Linked DNA regions of Homo sapiens: all the other regions are linked to region 1. Evidence: promoter capture Hi-C in 16 types of primary human blood cells and fetal thymus (Javierre and others, 2016). All regions are on one chromosome and are shown on one strand. Each heading gives the region's core, a stretch centred on a gene start or on the middle of the fragment in contact. The rest is flanking DNA. Distances are from core to core; before and after follow the strand shown.

What was found. The method cuts DNA at HindIII sites, captures the fragments that hold promoters and counts their contacts. A CHiCAGO score of 5 or more calls a contact.
Region 2: a fragment that was not itself captured here is called in contact with the fragment with the promoter of PRR19 in region 1 in 11 of 17 cell types (naive B cells, total B cells, neutrophils and 8 more); the score reaches 14.2 in naive B cells.
Region 3: a contact is called between a fragment that was not itself captured here and the fragment with the promoter of PRR19 in region 1, in 17 of 17 cell types (naive B cells, total B cells, naive CD8 T cells and 14 more). The highest score is 35.1, in naive B cells.
Region 4: a contact is called between a fragment that was not itself captured here and the fragment with the promoter of PRR19 in region 1, in 16 of 17 cell types (total CD8 T cells, naive CD4 T cells, naive B cells and 13 more). The highest score is 22.1, in total CD8 T cells.

The regions. Positions count from the first base shown.
Region 1 is chr19:42,300,882-42,303,581 of GRCh38, forward strand. PRR19 (proline rich 19) reads left to right here and starts at 1,251. Exons shown (of 3, transcript NM_199285.3): 1 at 1,251-1,622. PAFAH1B3 (platelet activating factor acetylhydrolase 1b catalytic subunit 3) reads right to left here and starts at 1,743. Exons shown (of 5, transcript NM_002573.4): 1 at 1,351-1,743; 2 at 1,069-1,158. The coding sequence starts at 1,428. RefSeq lists enhancers at 1,218-1,267, 1,348-1,477, 1,430-2,084 and a silencer at 1,638-1,857. The HindIII fragment of the contact is 26,667 bases long and covers 1-2,700 here.
Region 2 is chr19:42,153,637-42,156,336 of GRCh38, forward strand. It overlaps POU2F2-AS2 (POU2F2 antisense RNA 2), which reads left to right. Exons shown (of 2, transcript NR_186341.1): 2 at 2,071-2,700. It also overlaps a transcript of POU2F2 not described here. Among named protein-coding and RNA genes, the nearest start is that of POU2F2-AS2, 2.5 kb to the left of the region's middle. RefSeq lists an enhancer at 1,358-1,886. The HindIII fragment of the contact is 3,776 bases long and covers 1-2,700 here.
Region 3 is chr19:42,104,629-42,107,328 of GRCh38, forward strand. All of the region lies in intron 5 of POU2F2 (POU class 2 homeobox 2), which reads right to left. Among named protein-coding and RNA genes, the nearest start is that of POU2F2, 26 kb to the right of the region's middle. The HindIII fragment of the contact is 5,797 bases long and covers 1-2,700 here.
Region 4 is chr19:42,136,400-42,139,099 of GRCh38, forward strand. LNROP (long non-coding regulator of POU2F2) reads left to right here. Exons shown (of 3, transcript NR_038332.1): 3 at 273-700. It also overlaps a transcript of POU2F2 not described here. Among named protein-coding and RNA genes, the nearest start is that of MIR4323, 4.2 kb to the left of the region's middle. The HindIII fragment of the contact is 4,330 bases long and covers 1-2,700 here.

The sequences.
Region 1 (2,700 bases), core at 1-2,500:
TCGGCTCATTGCAATCTCTGCTTCCCAGGTTCTGGCGATTCTCCTGCCTCAGCCTGCCAAGTAGCTGGGACTATAGGCATGTGCCACCATGCCCAGCTAATTTTTGTATTTTTAGTAGAGACAGGATTTCGCCATGTTGGCCAGGGTGGTCTCGAACTCCTGGCCTCAGGTCATCCGCCTGCCTTGGCCTCCCAAAGTGCTGGGATTACAGGCGTAAGCCACCACACCCTGCCTAGAGTCTCTCACTTTAAACCAAGCCCCAGGCTCTGTTGCTCATGCTGAGGTGGGCGGACTGCTTGAGCCCAGGAGTTCAAGACCAACCTGCGCAACAGGGCAAAACCCCATCTCTACAAAAATTACAAAAATTAGCCAGGTGCATGGTGATGTGCACCTGTAGTCCCAGCTACTCGGAGACTAAGGTGGGAGGATCACTTGAGCCCAGGAGGCAGAGGTTGCAGTGAACAGAGATCATACCACTGCACGCCAGCCTGGGTGACAGAGCAAGACCCTGTCTCAAAAACCAACCAACCAACCAACCAACCAACAAAACAAACCAAGCCCCATAGAAGCAAGACTCACTTCATGAAAATCCAGTCTGCTTGAGCCATGCATTGAATCAATGGCATTACAGTTGAAACTTATTTTGATGAAACCCATTACAGTTGGACATGCTTTGTGGAAAGATATTATTATGATTGAGTCCTCTTTGTGGAGTGCCATTAGAGTTGCCCTTCGCTTCCTGTAAAGTGACTATAGCTTTGTGTAAACCCAACAGGGCTGCGCACTACTTAAAGCAAACAAGAAAGAGCCTCACTTTAGGCAAGCCTATGGCAGGAAAGCCTCATTTTAGGTCTTAGTACATTATACACAAATCCAATCTGATAAAACCAAGGCATACATTTCTTTCTCAATAGAATGTTGCACCTTACACCAAGATTCTCAGAGCCTCGGGCTGCCTGAGGCCAATCTGGGTACTCTCATAATACCTCACCTGGCCTGGGTTCTGGTCCAGATGTGTCAGCATGGACACAGGGCTGGATGGGGCAGGGGGAGAGGGACTGCCCTCACCTCGCACTGGTGCATGAGCTGGACCAAGGAGTCCCCGATGAAGACGACTTCGGGTTCCTTATCTTTGCTGTCAGCCACGAACCGATGGTGCTGCGGGAGCGCGCGAGAGGGAGTCAATGGCATGCACGCTCCAGGGCCCGCCCCGCCCTGCTCCCTTAGGCAGCGCCTCCTCAACTGCCCTCAGTTTCCCAATCAGGTAGTGAGAGTGGCACGAACCAGCCGTTCTCCTGAGCCACCCCCCGCGCCCCCGGACTCCTCAATATCCCAGGTGGGAACGCTCACCAGGGACATCCAGCGCCCGTCGCCCTGTACGTCCTGCACCGGCGTGGGCTTGCTGGCTGGGTTCTCCTCTCCACTCATCTTGGCGCCGCAGCTCCTGCAGGATGAGCGAGTCGGGTCGGCCCGGGAGTGTTCCGAACGGAGCTGGCTCCGCCACGCCCACTCCTACCCCTCGCGGCAACAAAGGACCGTCCCAACGCTAGCACACCCGCGGAGGACGAAGGCCGATACAGGGCGCCGCCTCCTCTCCAGGGACGGAAGCCTTCACTTAGGAGGTAGGTGGAATCAGGAACCTTCGCTTCCCCCACGACGGCCGCACAGTGGGCTCGCCCGGCGCTTCCCGCTCGGGCCGCTGACTCCCAGGCCGCGCACCCGGCACGGGGTGGGGGGAGGGAGAGGCGAGACCATCCAGCTCCCGAGGCGGGGAGGAGGGAGAAACCACCCACCGGTCACGGGGAGGGGCGAACTACCTGAAGAGTCGAGAGTGGGCGGGGAAAATCTAGCCCTCTGTCTAGCAAATGGGAAGAAACCATTTGCTGTACAGAGTGAAATGTGCGGAAGGGACCACCTACTGTTGCGGGGGGGGGGGTGACCCATTCACGTGGTGGGGGGAGGGGAGCGAGTGGACGAGTCCATTCTTATATTCCCTTGAAGGGGTGGCTCGAATGCACCTGGCTGGGGGGGACGCTCCTATTTTCTACTGATGTGGGGGACAGAAAAGGAAGATGACAAAATGTGAAAATTCGAGGCTCCCTTCTAAGGAGCCACTCTAAGGCCGCGCCAGGGCTTTAGTGAGCCTATCTACTCGTGGGCTTCCCCTACTCAAAACACCGTGGGTGTGTGTGTGTGTGTGTGTGTGTGTGTGTGTGTGTGTGTGTTGAAATCTAAAGTACATATCTTTGCATTCAAGACATCACAGGACCCCTACTCAAAACACCGTGTGTGTGTGCGCGCGCGTGGCATAACATATAAACTACATATCTTTGCATTCAAGACACCATAGGACCTGCTTGGAGGGTAGAAGAAGGTGCAGAAAGAGAAAGGAAATTAGAGACGCCTCCAGGGCTCAGGTCCAGTCTGGCGTCCCTCCGGCAGATCATCTTGCAGATCTGCAGCCTCTACACTCTCTCTAAACCCACAGGCCAACTGGGTATGTCTGAGCTCTGAAACCTACATCCATAGCCAAGGCCACCTAGGGTCGCGCCTCTCCCCCAACGCTGCCCCAAATTAATCTCAGACCTCAGTGTCTTCTCAGATCTCCCTCTTCTCTGGGACCAGGTGGGGGGCTCACTCCCTGCTAAACGTCCTGGTCATGTTCTTGTAGCCTCACTCCAGGTGGGACCTTCCCATGTA
Region 2 (2,700 bases), core at 126-2,625, 150 kb before region 1:
GGAGAGTCCATGCGGTTTCTCTGTGTGTCTATGTGATGCTGTGTGTCCCTGTGTGCCGATGGTCGAGTGTGTTTCCACAAGTGGGCTGGAGGCTCTGGGTGTGTCCCTGTGTGTGTCATGGTGACTTGGTGTAGACGGCACGGTGTATGTGTGTAGAGGCTACAACCCTGAGTCTCTGAGTGGGGGAGGGTGGCGAGGCAGCAGGGGCTGCCACGGAGACACTGGCTAGCCGGTTTTATCACTACATCATCTCCAAATCCCAATGTCAGGGCCTGCCTGCCTTCTTTCCCTTCCCTGCCAGAGACCCCAGACCCCTGCCAGGATGGGCCCAGGCCCCCGTCCCTCCCCCGGCACCTTGGGCAGGCTGTACCTCTGCTCCTCAACACCCCTGCTTTGGTGGATGCCACCTCAACTCCACCAAGCGACCTCCGTCCCTCCCAACCCCCCCAGCGCCACCCGCTCCCCCCGCCCTCCCCCCACCACAAGTCCAGTCCAACCCAGACAAAAGCAATTACTCCAGAGGTAGGATGTGAGTGTGGGTGTTAGAAACAGGAAAAAAAGGGGGGGACAGGGAGGGGGAGCGAGAGAGACACAAACAGAGGCAGGGATGGACAGCCAGAGACCCCGAGAGACGACAAGAGAAAGAGAACGGCAGAGTGAGAGACAGAGGCACACGCAGAGAGATGCACAGAGAAGCAGAGACAGAAGATGAAAGAGACTGGAAGGGACACAGACACCAAAACCAGGAGGCAAAGGCAGAGAAAAAGAGCAGAGGAAGGGCAAATGCAGAGAGCACGACAGAGAGAGACGCAGAGACAGTGACTGGAGAGACGGAGAGAGAAACAGAGAAAGAGCACACAACAGAGCAGAAAACCCAGTGATGGAGCCACACAGAGAGAAGACGCAGATAAAGAGAGAACGGGGGCCAGAGGCAGGGAGAACTAGAAAGGGGGCAATGCACAGAGAGGAACAGAAAGGCTGAGTGAGAGTGAGAGAGAAAGGAGACCAGAGAGATAAAAGGCAGACGGCAGATAGTGGTGGAGGGGAGTTGGTAACCCACTAGAGACTCTGAGATGGCAAAGCTAGAGAGAAACTGAAAGGGGATCACGTCCAAAGTGATGTCTCTCACACACACACACACACACACCTTTCTCCCCATTCCCCAGGCCAGAAGTCAGGGATGCTCAAGCCTTTTTCCACGTTCCTCTGGGCCCCTGTGAGCCACGGTGGGGAGGGGACAGGGTGAATGGACAGGGATGATCTCAGGTAGCTTCAGGGACCAGCCAGAGCCGACTGGGACCTGATCACATGGGTAGGGAGAGCAGTACATCCCTCCTTACCACACACCGCCACCTCACCCTCCACACACAGTCCACACACACCAGGGCCTTGGCCAATTTCCTCGTACTCTGCCAGGCATGGCCAGCCTGGGGGGTGGGGGGCCAGGTGTGAGGTCCTTCCTTCCTGCCCCACAGTCCTGCCCACCTGCCTCAGCTGCAGCTGCCCCGCACTGTTTTTTCTTTCTCATTGTCCCCTGCCTTCAGCCCGGCTGCCTTCATCTTTCTCTGATGCACTCTCATGCGCTCAGCTCGCATGCACGCGCCCTCTCTTTCTCTCTGTTCCTTTCTGTCTCTGAGTCCCTCACTCTGCTTTCCTGCCTCTGACTTTTCTGCTGTTTCCTCTTCCTCTTTGCTCCTCTCCGTTGCTCTGTTCCCCTCTCTGTGTTTCTGTCATGAGGTGCATGCTCCCTGGGTCTCCCTCTCCCTCCACTCCCATCTGGTGTATTCTGGATTCCCCTTTCTTAGACAATCCCTCTGGCCCTCCTATCCACCTCGTCCCCAAGAAAAGCAAGGTTGGGCACAGTGGTCCTAGCCTGTAGTCCCAGCTACATAGGAGACTGAGGCAGGAGGATTGCTTGAAAGTTTGAGAAAAGCAAGGGTGGATCACTGTGTAAAGGACCTCAGAAGCTGTCCTGGAGTGCTAGGAGTGGGTGAATACTTCCTTTCTTGTTTTTCCCTCAATCACCTTTTATCCTCCTCTCTTTCCTACCCCACCTCACACCCACCCCAGGCCGGATCTCTGGATCTCCCCAGCCTCCAGATCTCAGTGTGGCTCTCTCTGGAGACAAAAGCTAAGACTCAACCCACAGGCAACACTCAACACAGAGATCCAGCTCAGAAAAAAAGGAGCTGACCAGGGAGGAATGGAGAGGCCAAGACACATAATGAAGACTAAGAAAAGGAAGAAAGATGATGCTGGGGCTGGAGCCAAAGGGAGAGGAAGAGGAAAGGAAGGAAAGCCAGGGGCAGAGACCTGGCAGGGCAGCGTGAGCCCAACAACCACGGGGTGGGGGTGGGGCGCGCATCAAGATTTCTAACAAGCGCAGCTGAAAACACCCAGGGCCGTTCTCTGAGGCCTTCTCTCTGCCTACCAGCCCTCACCAGTGCTTCGAAGAGCCCTGAGGAACGTCTCTCTATTTGAAGTCAGAGCCGAGTGCCTGCTCTCGGCACCTGGGGCTCCATGCTTACCAGGATGGTGGGTACTTGACCTTCATTTGCTGTGGGACTGTCAGGGATTCCAGGGACCCACTGGTCCCCGAACTGGCTCAGAGATGCAAGCCATTTTTACCTCCTACACATCTATAATCCCCACCCCATGGCTGACAAATATTCCCAGTCCACAGCTGTCTCCACCCACCCA
Region 3 (2,700 bases), core at 71-2,570, 200 kb before region 1:
TGGTACTGTTTGTGTCACACACAAAAAAAGAGTATATCTGGATATTTGCTTGGGTATGCATAGTTGATGTCTGGAAAACCATACCAGAAGGCCACGCTGTAAATCCATTCATACCTCTGGGATTTGAAACATGTACCTGGTCTGAGTAAATAAATATCCCAGTGTCTCACCCCCACCCACCCAAACAGTCACTGCTGATCAACATCCCTGCTTTTCGACAGCTGAACACTATTCCCTGACCCCCTGGGGGTGCCTCTGCTTATTCCGTGTATGGCAGTGGACTGGGTACTCCTGTGCTCCTGACCTCTCTAACTCTTGCTGCTAATCATCTCAGAATCCAGCTTAAGGGTTCTGAAGTCCTAGCACTCTATCCTGTGAAACAATGTCCACCCTGCCTTCCCTTTCCCAGCTACCCCCAGCCCAGTAACACCTCCATGGTCACCTCCCTCCAGATGTGGATCAACTGTGAAGCGGGCAACACTTATGCTTCAGGGCCCCCCATTTACAGTGAACCCTTTCAAGGCCCCATACCTAATTTTTGTTTCAAACATTGTCTTTTTCTTTCAAAGGGACTCCAAGTTGCATAATCTTTTGGCCCCACAAAACGAGACCCACCTGCCCTGTGCTACACGTCTCCCAAGTCAATGCATTTGCTTATGTGTACTTTTCCTCTGCCAGACTGACTCTAGCAGACCAGAGGCATATCTTATTCTTCGTATATCCCTAACTCATATCGGAACCTGGTAAGCCCCCATTAAATGCCCACTGAATTGAATCTAATGAATAAGACTAGAAATCAAGTCTTATTACCAGCATTTTTCTGATTTCCTATAACCCTTAGCTTGTTGATTAAAGTATTTGTTAACTCCTGTTCCTCCCTAGCATGACTCTCAATGAAAATTCCCCTTTCCTCCAGAAGCCTAGAGAGGTGTCTGTGGGTTTCGTTCTGAATCACCAGCGAGAGGAAAGAATGGGGAAAGTGCATCCCAGTTTGCAGAAGGTCTCATGGTGAGAAGTTCAGATGGGAAACATTTAATCACATCCCTGTCTAGTTTCTCAGACCAGAGACTTAGGGGTCAGCCTTAATCCCACCTTCCCTTCCTCTCCCCATCCATCCAATCCATCTGCAATGCAAGTCTTCCCAGTTCCCTCTACATCTCTTCCTGTCCACAGTGACTGTCCTGGTCCAAACCACCATCCTTCTACCCCAGACCATCCATTCGCCCCCAGGCAGGCAGAGAGGGGTCTAAAACAATAGAGGTCTAAATGTTTTTGTGCCCTGAATTCTTCAGCATCTGAAAAAAAAAAAAACCTATTGCCCTCTTCTCAGAATTAAAAACACATAACATATGATATATAGGATCTTTCTTTTTTCTTTCTTTCTTTCTTTCTTTCTTTCTTTCTTTCTTTCTTTCTTTCTTTCTTCTTTCTTTCTTTTTCTTTCTTTTCTTTCTTTCCCTTCTCTCTCTCTCTTTCTTTCTTTTTTGAGATGAGATGGAGTCTCCCTCTGTCACCCTGGCTGGAGTACAGTGGCTCAGTCTTGCTTGGCTCACTGCAACCTCTGCCTCCCGGGTTCAAGCAATTATCCTGCCTCAGACTTCCAAGTAGCTGAGGCTACAGGTGCACCCACCATGCCCATGCCCAGCTAATTTTTGTATTTTTAGTAGAGAAGGGGTTTCACCATGTTGGCTAGGCTGGTCTCAAACTCCCGACCTCAGATGATCCACCCACCTCGTCCTCTCAAAGTGCTGGGGTCACAGGTGTGAGCCACCATGTCCAGCCAGATATATAGAATTTCAAATGAAATCAATCACATAATTATAGTCATCATCACTAGGGACTCCAAAGGGAGGGAGAAGGGCAAAGGCTGAAAAACTTCCTACTGGGTACTGTGTTCACTACTGGGTGACAGGAACAATTATACCCCAAACCTCAGCATCCATGCAATATAACCCTTGTAACATACCTACACATGTATCCCTGAATCTAAAATAAAAACTGGCTGGGCACAGTGGCTCATGCCTATAATCCCAGCACTTTGGGAGGCTAGATGTGAGAATCTTTTGAGCCCAGGAGTTTGAGACCAGCCTGGGCAAGATGGCAAGACCCTGTCTCTACAAAAAGAAAAAAACAAGAAGGAGGAAGAGGAGAAGGAGGAAGAGGAGGAGGAGGAGGAAGAGGAGGAGGAGGAGAAGGAGGAGGAGGAGGAGCAGGAGGAGAAGGAGAAGGAGAAGGAGGAGAAGGAAAATTAGCCAGGCATGGTGGTGCATGCCTGTGGTCCCAGCTACTCAGGATGCTGAGGTGGGAGGATCCCTTGAACCCAGGAGTTTGAGGTGGCAGTAAGCTATGATCACACCATGGCACTGCAGCCTAGGCAACAAAGGGAGACACCCGTCTCCAAAAAACAAAATAAAATAAAATAAATTAATTAAAATTTGGCTGGGTGCGGTGGCTCATGCCTGTAATCCCAGCATTTTGGAAGGCCAAGGCGGGCGAATCACTTGAGTTCAGGAGTTTGAGACCAGCCTGGCCAACATGGTGGAACCCCATCTCTACCAAAAAAATACAGAAAAAAAATTAGCCAGGTGTGGTGGCGGGCGCCTGTAGTTGCAGCTACATGGGAGGCTGAGGAAGGAGAATCACTTGAACCCAGGAGGCAGAGGTTGCAGTGAGCTGAGATCACACCACTGCACTCCAGCT
Region 4 (2,700 bases), core at 191-2,690, 160 kb before region 1:
GTCTCAGAACTCCTAGGCTCAAAGCCATCCACCCGCCTCAGCCTCCCAAAGTGCTGAGATTACAGTCGTGAGCCACTGTGCCTGGACTACTCTGTGCTATTTGAACCAATATATTATTTCTAAGTCCTCATGACAGTCTGAGGAGGTAAAGGTCTGCTATCATCCTCATTTTACTAACAAATTGAGCCTCAGAAAGGTGAAGTCTCCTGCCCCAAGTCACACAGCATGAGTGGTGGAGTCAGGATTTAAGCCCAGGTCTGTCCCCCTGACAGCTTGATCTCTCTGTACTGAGCCATGGAGCTCCTTCTTGGAGGCGTGAAATGCTCCCCATCCTTCAGGAGACAACAGCAACAGCCAGCCACTCCTTGTCCAGTCAGCAATGCTGGAATACCTCTGCAGCTCACAGTCCAACGCCCACAGCCTTCGAGTCAGTTTCTTGATATTCGGCAATGCACTGGACTCCTGATCCCATCAGCTCCTGGCTGAAGGTGGGCCAACCCTTCCCCATTTCCTTCAATTCAAACATTTCCTCATGTCCCTCAGTGCCAAGCCCTGTGCTGGGAGCTGAGGACCCAGAGGTGAGCTAGATCTAAAATCTGACCTCAAGGAGCTAACAGTCTGAGAGGAAGACTGGAGTGGATAAAAATACCTTGGTAATTTATCACTTAATAAATATCCAATAAATGCTATTATGTGCCAAGCCATTGCTAAGCTCAGAGAATACAGTGGTTAAAAGCAACCCATAGAGCTTATAGTCTTTGGGGGAGAAATAATTTTTAAAAGTTATCAACTAGCAGGGCATGGTGGCATACCCCTGTAGTCCTGGCTCCTCTGGAGGGTAAAGCAGGAGGATCACTTGAGCCCAGGAGTTCAAGGCTGCAATGAGCTATGATGGCACCACTGCTCTCCAGCCTGAGTGACAGAGCAAGACTCAATCTCTAAAATAAATAAATAAATAAATAAAATAAAAAATAAAAAGCCATCAAATAAATATGTAATTCTAAGTTAGGAAAAGTGATTTCAAGAATAGGTAGAGGAGGGGCTGGGCATGGTGGCTCACACCTGTAATCCTGGCGCTTTGAGAGGCTGAGGTGGGAGAGTTGCTTGACACCAGGAGTTTGAGACCTGTCTGGACAACATATCGAGACCCCATCTCTACAAAAAAAATTGTTTTAACTTAGCTGGGTGTGGTGGTGTGCGTCTGTAGTCCCAGCTACTCGAGAGGCTGAGGCGGGAAGATTGCTTGAGGTCGAGGCTGCAGTGAGCTACGATCATGCCACTGCACTCCAGCCTGGGTGACAGAGAGAGACCCTGACTCTTAAAAAAAGTAGAAGGAGGATACCTGATGTAAACAAAGGATGGCATGTTGCAGAAAACTGTCCCAAGGAAGTGACATTTACATAGCAATTAGACACAGTATTCTCGAGGCAAAGAATGTGAAGGAAGACACTCCAGGCAATGGGAACAGAGGAGGCGATGGCCCCATGGAAACAAACAGTGTGGCAATTCCAGGATCAGAAAGGAGGCCTATAGAGCTGGAGCAGAGTGAACAAAGAAGAGAAGATAGGAGACGAGGTGTGAGGTGGAGAGGCGGCCAGGGCCAGATCGCACAGGGCCTTGCAGGCCAAGGTAAGAATTTGGGACTTCAAGAACAGTGGGACACCTGAGAAGGTTTCAAGCAGGGGAGTGGCATGGTTCTATGAACACTTTTGTGACAATCCTGGCTGCTTTGGAGGCCGCAGTGAAGAACCAGAGGATGGAGTGTGGGGGTCAGCGTGAGGAAGCTGATGAATTCCACATCACCATCAGGTGATGATGACAGGAAGCAATAATTGGTGATTGGCTGAATGTGGGGCATGGGAGTCACGGAGAAGTCAAGAATGAGGTCCAGGTATGTTAAAGTATCTTTCCTGGCACAGAAGATTGGGGCAGGTGGAAGAGCTTAAGCTCAGGTAAGAAAGATCAGGGTAGGACCTGAGGTCCTGAAGGATGAAAGGAAGGGCAGGAGGTGGGAAACAGCATTCAAGGGGGTTGCCAAGGTTGAAGACCCCAAGGTGGAGACAAACTTGGCTTTCCCAAGTTTGTCCTCAAGTTCCTTTGAGGTTGGATTTGAAGTTGCAGGTGGAAGGCTTCTGCGCAGAAGCATTCTGTGTAAGGAAGTTCTACTGGGGACAAATGTGGGGACCGGCTGGTAGCATGGAATCTGGAGACAGGATGACCAATGGGGAGGCTGGGACAGTGGTCCAAGGCGGCAGGGGAGAAAGGAGCCATGAGGATTAGGATGAGGATACATATTCAAGCTGGAGTCTACAGGAACAGGATATGAGAAGTGGGTGCTGGGCTGGGGTGGCTGGGTGGATGCGAGGCCATCACTGAAAGACACAGTGAGAAGGGAAGCAGGGGGAAGACACTTGGGTCAGTTCCAGGGGGAAAGTCAGGAAGCAGCATCTTCCAAGAAGCAAGGTCTGTGGACCAGAAGTCAGCAGATGCTTAACAAATTCACATGGATACAAACATTCCTCATCATATCTCCCCACCACAGCCAATTTTCCACATCCACCAGAATTCCCAGTTCGCCTCATGTAAGAAAAGAAGCACTGTGATGTGGCTCAAAGAAGATAAAAGAAGACTAACTGGCCGGGTGTGGTGGCTCACACCTGTAATCCCAGCACTTTGCAAGGTCGACGAGGGCGGATCACC